Linked DNA regions of Homo sapiens: region 2 is linked to region 1. Evidence: promoter capture Hi-C in human tissues and cell types (Jung and others, 2019). All regions are on one chromosome and are shown on one strand. The core of a region is centred on a gene start or on the middle of the fragment in contact, and the rest is flanking DNA. Distances in the headings are between cores, read along the strand shown.

Evidence for each region. The method cuts DNA at HindIII sites, captures the fragments that hold promoters and counts their contacts. A contact is called where the count stands out against the background at its distance.
Region 2: a contact is called between a fragment that was not itself captured here and the fragment with the promoter of CRABP1 in region 1, in 2 of the 25 tissues and cell types used here (H1 embryonic stem cells and mesenchymal stem cells).

Annotation. Positions count from the first base shown.
Region 1 is chr15:78,337,719-78,341,613 of GRCh38, forward strand. CRABP1 (cellular retinoic acid binding protein 1) reads left to right here and starts at 2,635. Exons shown (of 4, transcript NM_004378.3): 1 at 2,635-2,780; 2 at 3,325-3,503. The coding sequence starts at 2,711. RefSeq lists an enhancer at 2,185-2,813. The HindIII fragment of the contact is 13,960 bases long and covers 1-3,895 here.
Region 2 is chr15:78,673,209-78,677,126 of GRCh38, forward strand. No RefSeq gene overlaps it. Among named protein-coding and RNA genes, the nearest start is that of CHRNB4, 34 kb to the left of the region's middle. RefSeq lists an enhancer at 71-961. The HindIII fragment of the contact is 7,783 bases long and covers 1-3,918 here.

The DNA.
Region 1 (3,895 bases), core at 1,385-3,884:
GAGGCAAGGTTACAGTGACCCAAGATGGCACCAGGGCACTCCAGCACTGGCGACAGAGCCAGACCCTGTCTTAAAAACAAGGAGAGTGGGCTCACAAGGACTCTGGGATCATCTTCCACTCTATGGCTGAACTGGCTGTGCCCTCCTCACTCCTGGACCCTGCTCCCGCCCTTGTTTTGTGCCTGCAGAACGACACCACTGTCCTGTCCCAGTATGGCCAACTTTTGGAGTGGACACCTTCATCTGGCCCCTCTTGCCCCATTCTCTCTCTGACTCCCTCCCTCACCTTCTTCTTTCCCTCTTCCCTCTTTGTCCATCCAATGCCTTTGCTGCAAGAGCTCTCTGTCACCTTTGTGCCTCATCCACGGCCCTCTGACTATCCTCACAAGGTCTCTCTGGGCTGTAAACTAGGATGCTGCTCCAACATTGCTGCCCTCCTCCAGCCTCCTGCCCCAGTCCCTCCCCAGCCCTGCCCTTTAGATGGCTGAAGCCTTCTTAGGGAAGAGTGTTGGATGGGGGCAGAGGCCTGCATTAGCTGGATGGCACTCCTGTTTTGCCCCTTCACTGGAGAGGCACTCAACCCTCTGTGAAGTGGGTTTGATTCTATGGCAGCTCCATCCCTTGCCTCCCACATCCAGGACCTGCTACTTAATTTGCAGATCCCAGTGCAAAATAAAAATTCAGGACTCCTTGTTCAAAAAGTATTATGGGGCCAGGCACGGTGGCTCATGCCTGTAATCCCAGCACTTTGGGAGGCCGAGGAGGGCGGATCACGAGGTCAGGAGATCGAGACTATCCTGGCTAACACAGTGAAACCCTGTCTCTACTAAAAATACAAAAAATTAGCTGGGCATAGTAGCACACACCTGTAGTCCCAGCTACTTGGGAGGCTGAGCCAGGAGAATCATTTAAACCCAGGAGGCAGAGGTTGCAGTGAGCCAAGATTGCGCCACTGCACTCCAGCTCGGGCAACAGAGCGAGACTCTGTCTCAAAACAAACAAACAAACAAAAAGTATTCTGACGTTCAAGCTGGCAATAGCAGAGCATTCCTGCTTTTCCATTTTCCAATCTAACTATCAGGCCCTTCTAAGTGCATGGCCCTGTGTGACTGCACAGACGGCACGTCCAGAATGCCGGCCCTGCCCATGCCCCTTTCCAGCTGGTGATGGCCCCACTCCCCTCTCCTGTCCTCAGCTGCTTTCTTAGACAGATCCTCGGAGCCTCCTGGCAGCAACCCAGCCCCAGCCACCTCCAGAAGTTTCCAGGGCCCTGTTCAGTAGGCACTCAGCACAGATTCCCCAAGGTCCTGGGGGAATCTTCACCCCAGGCCACCACTCACATCCTCCTCAAATCAATGCACAGTTATCGAGCCCCACCTGGCTAAGCCTTAGGAAGGGAGGACAAGTGGATAAACGATCACTGCCCTCCAGGAGTTCAGTTTATAGCAGAGCGAAGACTTGAACAAGAGCAGGACCGGACAAGAATCCTGTCAATTCAGAGAAAAATAATCACAGTTTATTAGGAAACTGAATTTCACAAAAGAGAGAGCATAAAGATGGGCTTTCGTGAATGGGCAAGATTTGATTAACCCGATGAGGAAAGGGGCATTCAAGGAAGAAGCCATGGCATGGGCAAAAACTTAGAGATAATAAAATGCATGGCACGTTCTAGAATCCTGAATTGTACAGTTTGGCTGAGGTGTGCAGATGGTAAAATAGTGGGAAAAAGCTGGAAGGAAAATGTACAGAGAAGAGCTACAAGGGTAATAGTGAAGTGTTTGTACTCCCTTAGTGGAAACACCGAGGGGACTTTAGGTCGTGATGTTTAGGTTATTTGGGAGCAAAGGGAGAAGACTTCCTCCCCTTGGCCCTCACAGCCTGCCCGAAGAGTGCAAAGCCTCACGCTTTTGCAAAACAGGCCGCACCTAGCCCAGATTCTGGAGCTGATTCAGTCCATGCCTCTCGACCCACAGTTTGTCCTGAGCCCTGACAAAGGTCTGGCCCCCTCCTGCACTCGGAACGCGGAGGACCCGCAGCTCGTGGATTCGCGCCTCAGTGCCCAAGCTGGTGTTGATGGGGGTTGCGGTTTCCTGCCACTCACTCCCCATGGGTCCTGTGGGGGGCGTGGGGATGCGGGGAGAGGGTTTCAGAATAGGATCCCGGACTGGGAGGGAAGGGACACCATCTGGGCACACCCAGTAGGTACGACCGGAGGTGAAAAAAGAGTGGGTCCCATCCCCTGATGGCCCCGCTCGCTATCCACTTTAAGTTTATGTTATGGATATTTTCAAACATATTCAAAAGTAGAGAGAAAAGTAGAATCATAACCCAAGTCCACACCGCCCAGCTTCAACAGTTATCCCCTCCAAGCCCATCTTGTTTCAGCTAACCCTCTCCCACCACCCATTTTAAAGCGGGATGTGGGTGTCCTGAGGGAGGTGGAGGCTCCCCAGTTGGAGAGCGGGTGCCCGCACCTCTGGAGGCTGAGGCACAACTGGGCTGGGAGTTGAGCGCATACCGAGTAGGGGCTGCGGGGGAGCGGGGGCAGGGCCGGCGGGGCGGGGCCAGAAGCCCGGCGGGGTTGGGGGCGCTCTCCTAGTGACTCAAGGCGCGCAGCGCTGGGCGCAAAGCGCCAGTCTCCGCCTTGCGAGCTCAGAGTGTGCCCGCTGCGCCGCCGCTGTCCGTACCTGCCGCCGCCGCCACCGCCACCATGCCCAACTTCGCCGGCACCTGGAAGATGCGCAGCAGCGAGAATTTCGACGAGCTGCTCAAGGCACTGGGTAAGCTGGTGCAGAGGGCGCGCCCCGACGGGGAGATGCGGCCCGGAGGTGCCCTGGTCCCGGAAGTGCCCCGGTCCTGGAGGGGGTGGAAGTTGGGGAGCCCAGGCAGGAGGGAGTCCCCGGGGCAATAGATCGCCTTGTCTCCCAGGCGCACCGGGTCTCGGAGAAGCTGGTAGAGATCCCGGAACCCACGCGTTCAGCGAACGTTTGCTGAATGTTTGGCGCCCTCCTCGATGGTGCGGACTTTATCTCGTGCTAGATCATAGCGAGGAGAGATTACTGGAGAGCAAGGAGGATCAGGGACTTAAATTTGGAGACTCAAATTTGGGACCAGGCTCTGCCACGAATTCACTGTGCAACTCGAGGAAAGTCACTTACCCTCTCTGTGCCTCAGTCTCTCATCTCGAAAACAAGGGCGAGGGCAGGGAAACGAGTGGATCAATTTTAAGGCCCCTTTCTAAAGTTAGGGTATGACCAGTGCCCGACCGGTCCCGAGACTGGCGGCGAGGCCCCGTGACCCAAGCCTGTGGTGCACCCTGCGCAGGTGTGAACGCCATGCTGAGGAAAGTGGCCGTAGCGGCTGCGTCCAAGCCGCACGTGGAGATCCGCCAGGACGGGGATCAGTTCTACATCAAGACATCCACCACGGTGCGCACCACTGAGATCAACTTCAAGGTCGGAGAAGGCTTTGAGGAGGAGACCGTGGACGGACGCAAGTGCAGGGTGAGGCCCCAGAGCCACTACAGCGTCCCCGTGTCCCCGCTCGGTGCCCATGGCCCACTGCTGCTGGAGGAACCTGTGTCTCCCTTTGCAGCCTGTGGCGCGCCTTCCTTGCAGGGTGTGTACACTGGCTGTTTGCAGAGGGGGTTTGTGCATCCTAGTTGCCCCTGGCTCAAGACAAAGTATTACCTTCATTCCATCTCAACCCCATCCCTACGCTGCCTCCCGGGGTGCTAACAGCCGCGCTTAAAGAGCGGGCTCTGGGTTGCGCCGCGTTCCCAGCAGTGGCTTTTGCAGCGGTTTGCAGCGCCAAGCGCAGGCGGCGCAGGAGGAGGAGGAGGTTGCAGGAGCCGCCAGGTTCTCTGTCGCAGGTGAAGCCGCAGCTCTTGCATTCC
Region 2 (3,918 bases), core at 236-2,735, 330 kb after region 1:
AAGCCAAAGTTTCACTACAAAATGAATGTTCTAAGTGGGGGCGGCAGGGCTTTTTTTTCTTTTCCTTAATAGTTCCTAACCTGGTCTTAAAAACCCAGTTCCCAAATGGTCAGAGAAGGCCCCATTCTCATTCTTGGAAAAGAGGAGAAGGAGAGTTTTTCTCTGTGCTTCTCCCGGTTGCTTTCTCCAACCAGGGCACGGAATTCCAAATTTGGAGCAGCCCTAGCAGCCCGAGCTGTCTGGTCAGTTGGCCTCAGCCGAGTCTGCACCAAAAATCTTCCCAAACCTCACACAGAGTCCTCACACCAGCCCCTTTCTGGGCCTTAGACCACCCCAGCTGTCAGAGCTGCAATGGAAAGGTCAGGGCCAGGCCAGCACAGCATCCCTGTGTCCTGATTGGCATGAATCCTCCATCGTTTCCTGCCCAGCCCTTCTTCCCAGAAGTCACACCGTGGGAGTTCCTGTGTCCTGCTGTGTCCCACTTTCTGACACCCAAAACTCACCGTGTGTCATCCCTTCAGGCCTTTTCTCTCTTGGACTGGGCCTGCCAGAGACTGAACTCACATCAGGGGTCTCTGGCAGACTGGCCGGCCACTCCCATGCCTGCCAGGGACTTGTTTCCCATTTTCTGTCCCACCCCAACCCATGCTGCAGCCCCAGGTGTCCCTCATCTGCACCAAGCCAGGCCCATCTCTTGGCTATCCAGTAACTACTGGGAGTCAGGGACACAGAGTTTCAGATCCTCAGCTTCCCTACTGGGGCATGGTGAGCCAGGGAGAGAATGGACAGACTTGAGCAGCGGTTCTTGGCTTGGACCACACATTGGCATCATCTGGGAGCTGTCAAAGCCACCCATGTGCCAGGATCCCACCCCTGAGAGACTCTGTTGTAGTTGGCCTGGGGAGTGGCCTGGACATTGGGATTTTGAAAAGCTCCCAGGGTATCCTGATATGCATCCAGGGTTAAGAACCAGTGTCATCAACCCAGGCCTGCGCCAGAAAGAGTCCACCCCAGACCTCACCTGCCAGAGACTCAGAGACAGCCAGGCCCCGGCCCAGGGTAACACAGCTGGAAGGGGCAGAGTGGTGCTGGCCAGAGTTCCTCCATCATCTTCCTCAGCTCCTCACCCCCTTCAACTCCAGGGACAAGAGCTCTGTCTCTTACCTTGGTCTGTCCACTCTGAACTCTGGGATCCCAGGAGTTGAGTTCTGTATTCACCTGTTACCAACAACATGTTCCTCTCTGACCCTCATCTCCTCGACTGTAGTTTGGAGAGAATAGTAACCACTTCACAGGGTTGCAGTGACAATTAAATGAGTTTAATATGTTAAAGGCTTATCATGGTGCCTGGCACTTAGTAAGCACTAAAATGTTATCTATTAGTATTGCGGTTACTGTTATTGTTCCCACAAAGAAAGCATGAACAAACAACAGAGTCTGGCTGGCAATTTGGGGGAGTGGGGCAATCCAATGGTGTATGTTATGAGTTGAACAGTGGCCTCCCGAAAAGACATGTCCATTTCCTAACCCGCATACCCTGTGAATGTGGTGTTATTGGGGAAAAGGGTCTTTGTAGGTATAATCAAGGATTTCAAGATGAGATCGTCTGAGCGGGGCCTAAATCCAGTGTGTCCTTATAGGAGACAGAAAAGGAAAGGCACAAAAAAGACCATGGGAAGACAGAGGCAGAGGCTGGAGTGATGCAGCCATGAGTTAAAGAATGTCTGGGTCCCCCAGGAGCTGGAAGAGGCAAGGAGGGACTCTGCCATAGCACATTCCGAGGGAACGTGGGCCTGCCAGCACCTTGATGTCAGACCTCTGGCCTCTAGAACTGTGAGCAAAGTTCTGGGATTTTAAGCCAACCATTTTGCTTTAATTTGTTACAACAGCTGCAGGAAAGCTACCTTCAGAGCTAAATGTTGCTGGCTAGAAACATCCCTGGACCAGGACAGTTGGCCCATTAGTCATACCTTAGGGAGGTGGGATTGGGGGTAGCGGCTCAGCACTGCCCTGTGTTGGTGCTACAGGGGGGCTCAGGCCTGAGGACCTTCTGGGGGCCAGGCACTGGAGCTGCCCCCTTCACTGTGGAGGCCTCAACAAGTTCCTTCCCCTCTGTAGGCCTCACCCACCCCCCTACTTGGCGTTTTGCATGTCTCTGTGAGTCTTGGGGAGAAAAGACCCCCATGTGATCAACTCCTCTGAGGTCAGGCCTGGCAAGGCCAGGAGCACCTCTGGTGTGAAGTAGATGCTCACCCACCCCTCCCTGCGCTGCCCAGGACTTCAGGGCCCAGACCTCCCAAGCTAATGGCTAATGGCTAATGCAACCAGAAAATGAGCCCTCTCATTCTACGGCCGGCTCTCCCCAAATGGACTTGAGGAGAATGAGATCTAATGAAGTCTTTTCTATGGGATAGTTCCAAAGCTTCCCTGTGGTCAGCCGAGGGGCACCATGAGGAAGCATGTGTCTGGGCAACAGGCCCCTGTGTGTTGCCAGGCAAGCCTAAGGGGGTCCATGGAGGGCTTTGTGTCCAGGGGCTCTCAGTGGTGACACCAGCAGGGCCAGCAGTTTCTGAGGGGCTACCCACCCACACCTCTTCATTCCCACTCTAACTATGAGGTGTGTGTATGGGTGGGGCTGGGGGAGGCAGGAGCAGCTGCTTGAGGGACACCAAGGACAACTTGGTGAACACTGACACTAAAAGGAAAGCCAAGTTCATTGAGTCCAGTGGTCTCATCATACAGCTGGGAATACCGAGGCCCGGAGAGGGGAGGGACTAAGGTTATACCGTGATCAGCAGCTAAGCTGATATGGGAGCCCAGACTCTCTGTCTGCCCATGAGAAGTGTGTGTTTACAAAGCACATGCTTGGGATAAGGCTTCCCTATGTGTGGGTTGAAGGGTTGGGGTGAGCACGTTCATGCAACAGTCCGTGGCTGACAGCGCTAGGTGCCCATTTGGATTGCGCCCTATGGGGAAGATGTCCAACTTGATGGCTTCCTTGAGCACTCCATGCAAGGGGGAAAGTCAAACACAAGAGGCGGGGCCCAGCACAGTGCCCAGGTCCTTATGGAGGAGGTGGAGGAAGAGAAACAGGAGGGGTGGGCGAGGAGAAGTTTGCGGCTGAGCAGGGTCAGAAAAGGACCCTGGAGCACTGTTCCTCAGTGGATGGGCAAGCTCCGTTCTCTTGTGGGGACTTTTATTTCTTCCCCTTGGGAAACCATTCTGGGCTCCTGATGTGCCTTAGACCACAGATCTAACACACACTTGCAAAAGCACTCCAAGGAGGGCGAGCACCAACTCCCTCCCACCCCAATGGGCGCTGCCAGCCCGGCACTGTGGGGCTCCAAGCTCAGCACCAGGTGAAGAACCAGTGTCTGCCGGACGACGGACTCACTGTGTGCAGAACACGGTGCTAGGCCCTGCGGGAGTTCAGTGAGAGGATTAAGGAAGAAATAATTTACCATCTCAATGCATTGAGATTCCAACCCTGTGGGAAACTGCCTGATCTGAAAACCTTTACAGAAAGCAGGTAAATGTATGCAGATCTTCACGGCCTAAGTAATTTTCTAATAAGGCATGAAAATACAGCGAGTGGTTTGGGTGAGGAAGGAGGAGGCAGGCTTGAAGCAGGGCTTTCAGGGAGGGGAGGGGCAATGCCTGACATTAAAGACAGGGAGGGTTGTGGCTGGGAAGTACAGTGGTGAGCGCAAGAGGCCCAGGCCCTGGAGCCCCCAGCCTGCTTCACAGTCTGTGATCTCCCTTGGAGCTGTGGAAGGGTTTTTTGGTCTCCACAGTGAGCCGGCTTTTTAGAAATGGGCACATTGTAATTGTGTATATTTATGGGTACAATTTGATGTGTCAATACAGATATGCTCCATAATGATCAACTCAGGGAAGTAGGACAACCATCCCACATGC